Linked DNA regions of Homo sapiens: region 1 is linked to region 2. The links are contacts of gene promoters, found by promoter capture Hi-C in blood cells and fetal thymus (Javierre and others, 2016). All regions are on one chromosome and are shown on one strand. The core of a region is centred on a gene start or on the middle of the fragment in contact, and the rest is flanking DNA. Distances in the headings are between cores, read along the strand shown. Region 1 holds the start of MED23 (mediator complex subunit 23). Region 2 holds the start of ECHDC1 (ethylmalonyl-CoA decarboxylase 1).

What was found. Contacts are between HindIII fragments. The CHiCAGO score rates a contact against its expected background, and 5 or more counts as called.
Region 1: a fragment that was not itself captured here is called in contact with the fragment with the promoter of ECHDC1 in region 2 in 2 of 17 cell types (naive CD8 T cells and total CD4 T cells); the score reaches 7.3 in naive CD8 T cells.

What each region holds. Positions count from the first base shown.
Region 1 is chr6:131,623,210-131,628,726 of GRCh38, reverse strand. It overlaps MED23 (mediator complex subunit 23), which reads left to right and starts at 485. Exons shown (of 29, transcript NM_004830.4): 1 at 485-716; 2 at 1,055-1,086; 3 at 1,244-1,331; 4 at 3,738-3,862; 5 at 5,265-5,376. The coding sequence starts at 678. RefSeq lists enhancers at 496-665, 796-845. The HindIII fragment of the contact is 726 bases long and covers 3,554-4,279 here.
Region 2 is chr6:127,342,359-127,347,914 of GRCh38, reverse strand. ECHDC1 (ethylmalonyl-CoA decarboxylase 1) reads left to right here and starts at 4,306. Exons shown (of 6, transcript NM_001002030.2): 1 at 4,306-4,579. RefSeq lists enhancers at 2,400-3,273, 4,148-5,021. The HindIII fragment of the contact is 1,394 bases long and covers 3,976-5,369 here.

The sequences.
Region 1 (5,517 bases), core at 2,667-5,166, 4.3 Mb before region 2:
TATATTAAAAAGGATAATATATTATGACCAAGTAGCATTTATACCATAGAAGCAAAATTGGTTTGGCATTCAAAAGTCAATCAATTACATTTGCACTGAGGTTATCATAGCTGAGAAGACACCGTCTCTGTGGCTTCAGCTCCTGGCTGCAGGCCGCTGATGGAGGTCCAGAAGGTCAGCTGCTCACAGACATCAACTTGGTGTCGGCTGCGGCTCCAGCATTTTCCGCAGGCTGCAGCTTCTGGGTTCCAAACTTTTCATTTCTCAGTCTGCAAGCGGGTTAGCCCCGAACAGGAAGCAACTCCTTCTCCAGCCGGGAGGTGGCGGCCTGCGGTCGACGATGCCTCCGGGGTCCTTGGGCTCAAGGTTCCGTTTGGGGGCGCTCTCGTCCGGCTTGCGGGCCGCCCTTCTCCACAGACGGAACCTTCTGGTGGCGCCGCTGGTTTCTGCGGGGTTTGCAAACGGCGCGTACCGGGCCCTTCCCGTCTTCCGTACAGGTTCCTGCTGTTGGCTGGGCTCGGGAGGGAACGCTCCAGGTAAAGCGCTGGGGGAGGAAGCGACGCCGAGGAGCTACGGTTTCCTCCAGAGGTCTCCGCCCCTCTGCCCCTATATTCCCAGAGCTCGAGTCTGATCCGGGCCTTGCCGGGCACCCTGGAAAGGCGGGGGTGATAGTACAGATGGAGACGCAACTGCAGAGCATTTTCGAAGAGGTGGTGGTGAGTGCAGCTGCCGGCCATCCAGGACTACGGCTTGGGGACGGGGAGACGCGGGGGCAGCCGACCAAGGAAACTGGCCTGGGCAACCTCCTCTCACGCCTCCCTTTTTATTCCCTTGTTTTGACACCGAGGTTGTATGCGGGGAAGTTTAGTGATTCTCAAACTGCTGTCAAGTTCATTGTATCCTTTGAAATCGATACAGTGACAGGCCAGACAGGTATTGATAGTTTCAGAGCTGATTAAGGTGACTTGCCCTGTGTTACATTGTAATACTTGGCTAAGGGAGGCGCCTTTTTAAAATTAACATTGTTTACATTTTGTTTTTTTTTTTTTTACAGAAAACGGAAGTTATAGAAGAGGCTTTTCCTGGGTGAGTGTATGCGTGGCAGAGTTTTGTGTTTTTATGTGATTGTGTCTGTCAGATTTTACTTAGTTTCGTGTTGGAAGGTTATAAGATCCACTATTCTGATTGTGTGTAATTACCTTTTTAAAACGAATGACAAATAATGTAATTTTTATTTTTTTAGCATGTTTATGGATACTCCTGAAGATGAGAAAACAAAACTAATTAGCTGTTTGGGGGCCTTCAGACAGTTTTGGGGTGGTCTTTCTCAGGTGAGCGCTTCATTTTTAATACATTCAGCTGATGATTTTTGGCCTCTTCTTTTTTTTTTTTTTTTTCTTTTAACATTTACTTTCATGCTGCTCTTAAGATCTTCCTGAGAAGGGAGAAATAAAATTGTTATCATTTTTTATTCTGGCTTCCATTTGTTTTAATTTGTATATTTCAGTGGAAAACCTGTGTTGAGAAGTCAAGTTGATACTGCACAGTGTGAGATGTTTAAAAAAAAAAACCTCCCCTATGTTAGATTAATTGAGATCATTTTCATCCTATTCGGATTTATTTGGTACACTTGAAAACAGATATGTTAAGCTTTACTTGTCAAGGATACAAATTCCATTTTTCTGCTAAATAAAGGAATTGGCACAGCATTGATACAAAGATGCTACAATAGGAATACCAAGATTCTATAATAAGGATAGGAAAATATTATAGTAAAAATGAGGAGACAAACTGTAAAAGTAACAAAGAACAGCTACCAGAAAATGTATCCGTGAAAAAGACAAAAATGTGTCATCCTCGAAGAGCTCACATTGCAGTAGTGCCTTACCTTCTCATGGTACACTATAGGTAGGGAAATGAGAACTGTTTGCGTGTCAGCCACTGGTGATAAGATTTGCCACTCAGACATGGATCATATAATGCCAATACAGTCATGTTTTAACCTTTTTGTTTAGTTGTTTTCTAATAGGTAATACATTTATATGGTTCAAAATGCACAGGTATAAAAGGGTGGATCCAATAACTAGTCTCTTTCTCTTCTCTTACCTGTTATTTTTTCTGTCTGTAGCCAATATCCTCAGGTTATGTTTTCTTCTAGAAGTATTTTATGCATATAGAAACACTTTTATAGCATGATCATATACCATGTACACTGTTCATTAATTAGCACTTTTTTTCTCCTAATAATAATCTACAGGTAATTCCCTATCAGTCCAAGCGTTACTTGTTCCTTCCTTTCTTACTTTTTTTTTTAAATAGCAGCATAATATTCCATTGTATGGCTGTACCTTCCTCCTTTTAACCAATCTTCTACTGTCTTCTAAGTTTCTTCTTACTTTTTCTAATTTAACCAATGCTGTGATGAATAATATTATGCATGAAAAATAGGATAAATTCCTAGAAATAGTATTGCTGAGTCAAAAGCCTTATCAGTTTGTAATTTTTATAGAAATTATTAAATTTTCCATAAGGGTTATACTAGTTTATGCTTCCACCAGCAGTGTTTGAGATTATCTTTTTCTTTTCTTTTTTTTTTTTTTTTTTGGAGACAGAGTCTCACTCTGTCGCCCAGGCTAGAGTGCAGTGGCGTGATCTTGGCTCACTGCAACCTCTGCCTCTCGGGTTCACGCCGTTCTCCTGCCTCAGCCTCCCGAGTAGCTGGGACTACAGGCACCTGCTATCACGCCCGGCTCATTTTTTGTATTTTTAGTAGAGACGGGGTTTCATCGTGTTAGCCAGGTTGGTCTCGATCTCCCGACCTCATGATCTGCCCACCTCGGCCTCCCAAAGTGCTGGGATTACAGGCATGAGCCACCGCGCCCGGCTGAGAGTATCTTTTTCTTATAACCTCACAATAGAGTGTTAAGCTTTTTGATCTTTGCCAATCAAAAACATGAGAAATTTTATCTCAGTATAATTTTATTTTGCATTTCTCTCAGTGATGTTGAATATCTTTCCAAAATTTAAAAAAAAATTCATTAAACACTTTATGAATTATGATGTGGCCCTCTAATGGAGAGACCAGGAAGAAAATAGGTATTTCCAAATCATTGTTATATGTGCCACAATAGAAGTATGTATGAGAACAGTGGTTGTGGAGAGAAGCAGAACATTATAGGCTCTTTTTGGAGATAATCCTAGAAGACAAACTTTGATACGGGCACAACATTTTGACATCGTATTTAAAGTTTTGCCAGTCTAGAAATGTGACATGTCATTGGATTCATAATGGGCTCTTGTTTGGGATCTTAGGGATTGGATTCACACCTAATTCTCCTAAGCCTGATACATACTGATCCATAATGAATTTTACCCCCAGTGACAGTAATATTTATATATGCCATAAAGGGCACTGTTTACAATGCCTTACAACAATCTGTGTTAAGAGTTTTCTATTGACCGTTAATATGTTAACTAATTAATTACTACTTTTGAAGTTCCCATGTAATAAAAATGGTAGCATTTTATCTATGTAATTACAAAATGTTAAGCTTAATGTGACAAATACTAAATCTGAATTTTTTAATTTTGCTTTTTTTAAAAATTATTTTCATCCACAGATGCTCATAGTGAAGTATTTCTTTCATAGTATTGGTATACTTCCAGTTGTAGTATTAGCTATTGGTTATAAAAATGTAACTTTAGACCCCAAGTAAAATCATTCTCTCATTTTCCAGGAGTCTCATGAACAGTGTATCCAGTGGATTGTTAAGTTTATTCATGGTCAGCATAGTCCTAAAAGAATTTCTTTTCTTTATGACTGCTTAGCAATGGCAGTTGAGACTGGTCTCCTTCCACCCAGGTACGTTTAATGGGTATGAGCAATCTGAAGAATTTTCTTTTCTATATGTGATTGGAAATTGGTTGAGGTTGTTGTTGTAAAAAGGTAAGAGAATGAAGAAGAAGGTGAGGTTTATCAAGTAATCCTTTATATAATACCTCAGGTTTTAGTTTCTAGGAGTAATAGTCTTTGAATTAGGTAATGCTTGTGGGCTCAAAACCAGATGTTTCTGCCCAGGGGCTGAAATTAATCACTTTAATTAGTTTGTAACCCTTTACTTTTGCTGCACAACCTCAACACCTTATGGCTTAAAACAGTAATACTCAGGTTTTAAAATTATTCATGGTTTTAGTGGTTGACTCGGCTTAGGAGACACTTTTTACTCAAGGTCATAATGATTGTGATCAATGTGGCTAGGGCTGGAGCATGGCAAAAGCTTCCCCACTCAGATATCTGGTGGTTGATTCCTGGCTGTCATCTGGAACCTCAGCTGGGATTATTAGCCAGAACCTCCGCAGGCCCTCACCTTGTGGCCTAGACTTTCTCACCTCATGGTGGAGCCTAACAGCAAGTGTGCAAAAGAGGGCTAGGCAGAAATTGTATCACCTTGTCTTCTTGGAAGTCATACTGCATCCTTTTGGCCATAGTCTTAGGTCTGCCCAGATCTAAGGAGTGAGAACGTAGACTTTCCCCCTACCTCTCCTTGGGAGAAATGTCAGTGTCACATTTCAGAAGAAGATGTGGGATCAAAAATCTTGTTGCCATCCTGTTGGAAAAATCCAGTGTACCACAAGGTGATAGATGGTAAACATCTAACCGAAAGCTTTAGATAGACTTCTTTCTAGTAAAATATAACATAATGAATATTATTTCATTCTTACTTTGTTTTTGATCTTTCATACAAGTAAAAAATGTAAAATACTACACAGATTTATAAGTGTGCTTAGTAATCACTTTTATGAAAGACACTTGTGAGGATAAATATAATACAGTGCACAGACTATGGCTGTATTAGTCTGTCTGATGCTGCTAACAAAGATATACCCGAGACTGGGTAACTTATAAAGGAAAGAGGTTTAATTGACTCACAGTTTGGCATGGCTAGGGAGGCCTCAGGAAACTTAGAATAATGGCAAAAGGCACCTCATCACAGGGTGGTGGGAGAGAGAATGAGTGCCCAGTGAAGGGGGAATCCCCATATAAAACCATTAGATCTTGTGAGAACTAACTCACTATCATGAGAACAGTATTGGGGGAACTGTCCCTCATGATTTAAATGGTTTTTCTCATGACACGTGGGGATTATGGGAACTACAATTCAAGATGAGATTTGTGTGAGTACACAGCCAAACCATATTGGCGGCTATTAGAGAACTTGGAAAATTCTGTCTTGTAACTGGAATGGCTATTTCTTTTTTTATAGGCTGGTTTGTGAATCCCTGATAAACTCTGACACTCTTGAGTGGGAAAGAACACAGCTTTGGGCCTTAACATTTAAACTGGTTCGGAAAATAATTGGGGGAGTGGATTACAAGGTATATTTTTCTTATTATAAAAAGTGATTGCTTTCAGATATGATTGATTTTTCGGTGTGCATGTCTTATTTTCAGGTGAGAGAAATGATGTGGAAGCATTTACAAAATCTGTCTATTTCTTGTGGTATATTTCCTGAAAAG
Region 2 (5,556 bases), core at 3,057-5,556:
AATAAGGCTAACAAGGCATTTGAACTCAATAAGCTTACATTAATAAAAATTATCATGATAGAATATAATGCAACAATAAATGATATACATTGTGGTATAACATTTTGATATTTCTTTCTCATACCTAGAACTATAACCAATTCAGTCTAAAGCACGTGTTGTTTCAGGGGAAAGATAGCTGTGATTGGGTTACAAATGTTTTCATAAAACTCATACCAGGGACAAGTGAAGAAAATCATAATATCTGAGTCTGGTTTATCTTCTTCCCATCCCCGCTTTTTAGAGTAAAAAGGTATTTTGTGCTTCAGAGAGAAAACCCCTTAAAAACTTATTGCATTGAGTCTAGGCCACAAACAACAGATTGAAAATAGAATACATGATACTCAAAGCTGAAATATATAAAAAAAAAAAAGTAAAATCACATCACACGGTAGTGTTGAAACATTCAAGTGTGTAAATACATGTCGACATCCTTTGTTCAGAATGAGGAAATACTTGAAGTGTAAAAACTTATTACTAATCATTGTTTCTCAATTTTGACTTAAGGGCTATTTGTTCAGAATAAAATATATGGAACTAAGGCCAAGAATTTGTATGTTTACCTAATGTGACTTGTGTTTGCCAATGTTTGAGAACCTCAGTGTTTGTCAAGAGGCCTAGGAATTCATAAACATAACAAAAGTAACTGGCTTTACCTTAACCTAATATGCCAACTCCCAAAATTATGCCAAACTTGCTTTACTTGTCATCATAGCACTTAATACCCCCCAACATTATATATTTTTGTTTCATTTTTGACACATAACAATTTTACTTATTTATGGGATATGGTGATATTTTAATGTTATTTAGCAAAACCATCACCTCATGTATTTACCATTTCTTTGTAGTGAGAACAACCAAAATCTTTTCTAGCCATTTTGAAACAATGTTGTTAACCACAGTCATCCTACTGTGCAATAGACCGCCAGAATTTATTCCTCCTAACTGTAACTTTGTACCCACTGATTAATCTCTTCTCAGCCTCTGATAACCACCATTTTATTTCCCACTTCTATGAGATCAACTTCTTTGGATTCTACACCTGCATGAGATCATGTGATATTTGTCTTTCTGTGCCTGGCTTATTTCACTTAATGTTCTCCAGGTCCATCTATGTTGCCACAAATGACAGGATTTCATTCCTTTTAATGGCTGAATAGTATTCCATTGTATGTATATACCACATTTTCTTTATCCGCTCATCCACTGATGGACACTTAGGTTGATTCCATATCTCGGCTCTTATGAACAGTGCTGCAATAAACATGAGAGTGCAGATATCTCTGCAACATACTGATTTTACTTCCTTCAGATATATACCCAGGCGTGGGATTGTGGGATCATATGGCAGTTTTGTTTTTAATTTTTTGAGGAACCTCTATACTGTTTTCTATAATGGCTAGAGTAATTCAAATTCTTTTGTTTATTTATTATTTTTTTGAGACGGAGTCTCGCTGTGTCACCCAGGCTGGAGTGCAGTGGTGTGATCTCGGCTCACTGCAGCCTCTGCCTCCCAGGTTTAGCTGGGACTACAGGCATGTGCTGCCATGCCTGGCTAATTTTTTTGTATTTTTAGTAGATAAGGGGTTTCAGCATGTGGGCCAGGATGGTCTTGACCTCCTGACCTCGGGATCCGCCCACCTCAGCCTCCCAAAGTGCTGGGATTACAGGCGTGAGCCACTGCATCTGGCCAGTAATTTACATTCTTACCAACAGTGTATAAGTATTTCTCTCCACATATGCATGGGCATGTTATTTTTTGTCTTTTTGATAATAGCCATTCTAACAGGTATGAGGTGATATCTCATTGTGGTTTTGATTTGCATTTCCCCTATGATTATTTTTATTTATTTTTAATTTTTTAAAAATGTATGTATTTGTTTTTGAGAGTCTTGCTCTGTCACCCTGGCTGGAATGCAGTGGTGTGATCATGGCTCACTGCAGCCTCAAGCTCCTGGGCTCCAGTGATCCTCCCACCTCAGGCTCCTGAGTAGCTAGGACTATAGGTGTATGCCACATTGCCCAGCCAATTGTGATTTTTTGTAGAGACAGGGTTCTGCCATGTTGCCCATGGCTGGTCTTGAACTTCTGGGCTCAAGCAATCCACCTGCTTGGCCTCCCAAGGTGTGGGATTACAGGTGTGAGTCACTGTGCCTGGCTGAGCATTTTTTCATATATTTGTTAGTCATCATCATGTTTTCTTTTGAGAAATGTCCATTCAGGCCTTTTGCTCATTTTTAAATTGGATTTTTTTTTTTTTTTTTTTGGCTATTGAGTTGACTTCTTCATATACTCTGGATATTAACCCTTTGTCAGATATATAGTTTGCAAATATTTTCTCCCATTCTGCAGGCTGTCTTTTCACTCCGTTGATTATACATATTATGTATTTACTTATCTTTCATTGTCCACCTACCCCACTATATAGAGTTTAACTTGGATATTTTCCCAAAGTGTTAAAAAGAAAGATGGAAAATGGGAGCCAGAAATAGAAAGCCCACTGAGTACTACAGTTATCACTGAGAAAGAAGAATGAAAGTTATTACTGAAAAATAAAACTGAAGAAACCTCTCAGATGGGCCTGGTGCCTGGGTCCATGGGGACAAAAGTGGAACATCAGTCTAGCAGTCTAGTCTGGTGCTGGGGAAGACCTAAAGCCTGATTCTTCAGAGGCCATCATGGAGGCTGGGTTTGTGGGTGGTAGCCTGTAGGCTAGGCCCTCTGGGGTAGTTCTGGTGCCAGGGTCTACTGGGGTAGACCTGGACCTTGGGTTTGTTGGAGCAGGCCTGGAACCTGGGTTCACTGGAACCTGGGGCTGTAGGGACCAGCAGTCAGTGGACCTAAAGCCTATATCCACTGGTGCCAACCTGGAGACTGGGGCTGTAGGGCCCAACCTGGTGTTGGAGCCTGGTGCCTGAAACTATGGGGACCAACATGGGGAATGGAGTGGGCATAGATCTAGGCGCCATGGAGATTAGCCTAGCATTGGGGTGATCTTGGAGTCTCAGTGAAATGGCTCAGTGATCTTGGAGTCTCATTTTATAACAAACTAGAATTAAATACAGTACTTCTAATAATGACTTCTTCCAATTAGTCCAAACTGGGCTCCCACTTATTCCCTATCATACACATCTCCGTATCGTAAAACTATCCTCCCTGTTCGGCGCGTTGGCACATTCTGTTCCTCCGACTAGAATATTCCCTGTACTTATTCAAATCATACCTATGACCACTGCAGAACTCCAGGAACATGACCATCCCATCTAAACCCCTGCGTTCAGAGACTTGACCAAACTCTAGCAAGCTTTAGCAGCATAAGGCCCTGTGCCCAGGGCGACTGCCTCAGAAAGCTTAACTACGTGATGTAACCAGCACACAACTGATGATAGGTCTCTGACATCCCTTTCTTAGAACGTTTACTAAAGGGCTTGCAATTGTAAAGACTTATTTCTTGCCACTCAGAAGTTCTCTCTCAAGGACCAGAGAGTCATTCCTTTGAAATGTAATCGAGAAGGATAAAATCCTCCGTAGGAGGATAGAATCCTGCGGTAACTGTTAAAACGCGCGCACACACAAACACACAGCTGGCCTAATCACATTTACACTAACAACTCTGTAGGTTCACTTTCTCTACTGAGCGCCCGCATATCCCCTTTCTCCTTTTAAAACGTCCCTTTAAAAATGCCCAGATGATCTCTGCACGAATCGAAATAGAGCTCAGCTCTTTCCTGTCAGTAGTTAACTGAATGTTTTCACCGCTTTAACGTCCAGCTGCGCTTATCTTTGACATCGACTACCTAAGGTCTACCTTTAGTCCCACGACTCTGACAAAATGATCTCAATATTGGTGTAAAATCACCTCCCCTTTCAAGGGTCTTCCAAAGCACTTCCTGTCTGCGGCATACAAAATGTATTGGCACGGAATTTTAAGCTTACTGAGCTTTATAAACACGTCACATTCACACATTCAAGACACACACTGGATATTCGGATAAAAACAAACAAACAAAAAACTGGCTAAATACCCATTCCCCTCAATAACTTGGATAAGATACCTAAAAAAGGTCGACCTTCGGTACCTTTCTGTCTTCTCCCCTCTCGCTATTTGCCTACACTGGCTTCCTCACCTCCACTTTTTCTCACGTTTATCTGAGCGAAAACAAGCACGGTTCGGCAGCCTCCTTTCCCAGCCCTACCTTTGTGCTGCAAAAGCGAAAATTCAAAAGCCAAGTACAATAGGAGACCGCCCACCCTGGCTCCCTCGTGACACGAGGGAGCGCGAAGCGGAGGGCGCCTCGCGGCAGGAGCGGGATTTCCGGGGTCACGGGAACCGGCAGGGGAACGGGATAAAGTTCCCGGAGAAAGGAAAGGAGAGCGTGGGATAGTAAAAGAGAAGACGCGGAGAAGAGGAGAGGACCTACAAGAACGGAGGACAGGGGCGCACGATGGTCCCGGGGGGAGCGGAAACAAAGGCACGCAAAACGGAAAAGCGTGTGTAGGGGAGCGGAAAAGGAAGTCACCACCGTGGCCTGCGACGGTAAGTGGTCGTAAGGGTTGGTCTTAGCGCTTCAGTTTAGTGTTGTCAGTGGGAGAATCCTAAAATGTCGCCGTGGAATGGACTGTACCGCTCGCTTCTCCAAACGTGTCCCAGACGGCGAGCCTCCCCGGCTCCGCGGCTTGTCCCTTGCAAGCGCCGCGCAGGCCTGCCCCGCGCTGGACGTGGAGACGCGGTGCCGAGCGCCACGGGCCGGCTGTGCGCCGGCCGGGGAAAGAGGGCGAGGGGAAGAGATGAATCGGTCTTCCCAGAGCGCGCCGCGAGGTCGCGAGATTACACTTTAAAAAGCATGAGGAGGCTTGCTTTCTACATGCTGATTTAATTTCGGAATACATTCGAGGCCCTGTGCTAAGTTAGGTAATGTTCCCTATAATTGTCTTTTATGTATAAGTTGTCTTGCCTAACTAAAACTTTTCTTACTTGTATCGTGCAGCCAACTTTTCAAGAACGAAAGATGAGCAACTCCTTTCTGGTAGAGGTTCTTTCATTGGAGAATTTTTGAGCTACAATAATCCTTTTAACGCTGCGCACACATACAGGGATTACACGTGTAGGGGATTAAAAACACAGTTAAGTTTAGGTTGAAGGTGCTGTTAAGGACTTCAGGCAACATTAAATCAACACTCAGTTCTTTGCTCTGTTCCACATCTGGGCTCCTGTATAGCAGTTGTTGCTCTAGGTGCTAGAGGTATGCAGAGGAACTGGACAAGGGCAAGGAAAACAAAGGGCTCCTTCTTTAGAAGAGCTAGCATTCTCTTGGAACAGACAAGCTTGTGGTGAGAAGTATATTTGTGAAATCTACGAGGGGAGGGAGCAGCGCAGTAATAGAACGGGCGATCCTTTCTTGATTTTTTATTGGGTTCTGGCCTGAAAGGCGACTGTATAATCAGCTGGGATTCCTGCAATGATTAACATTCCAGGAAGGGAAGCCAGCCTGTGAAGAAGCATGGCATTGAAAC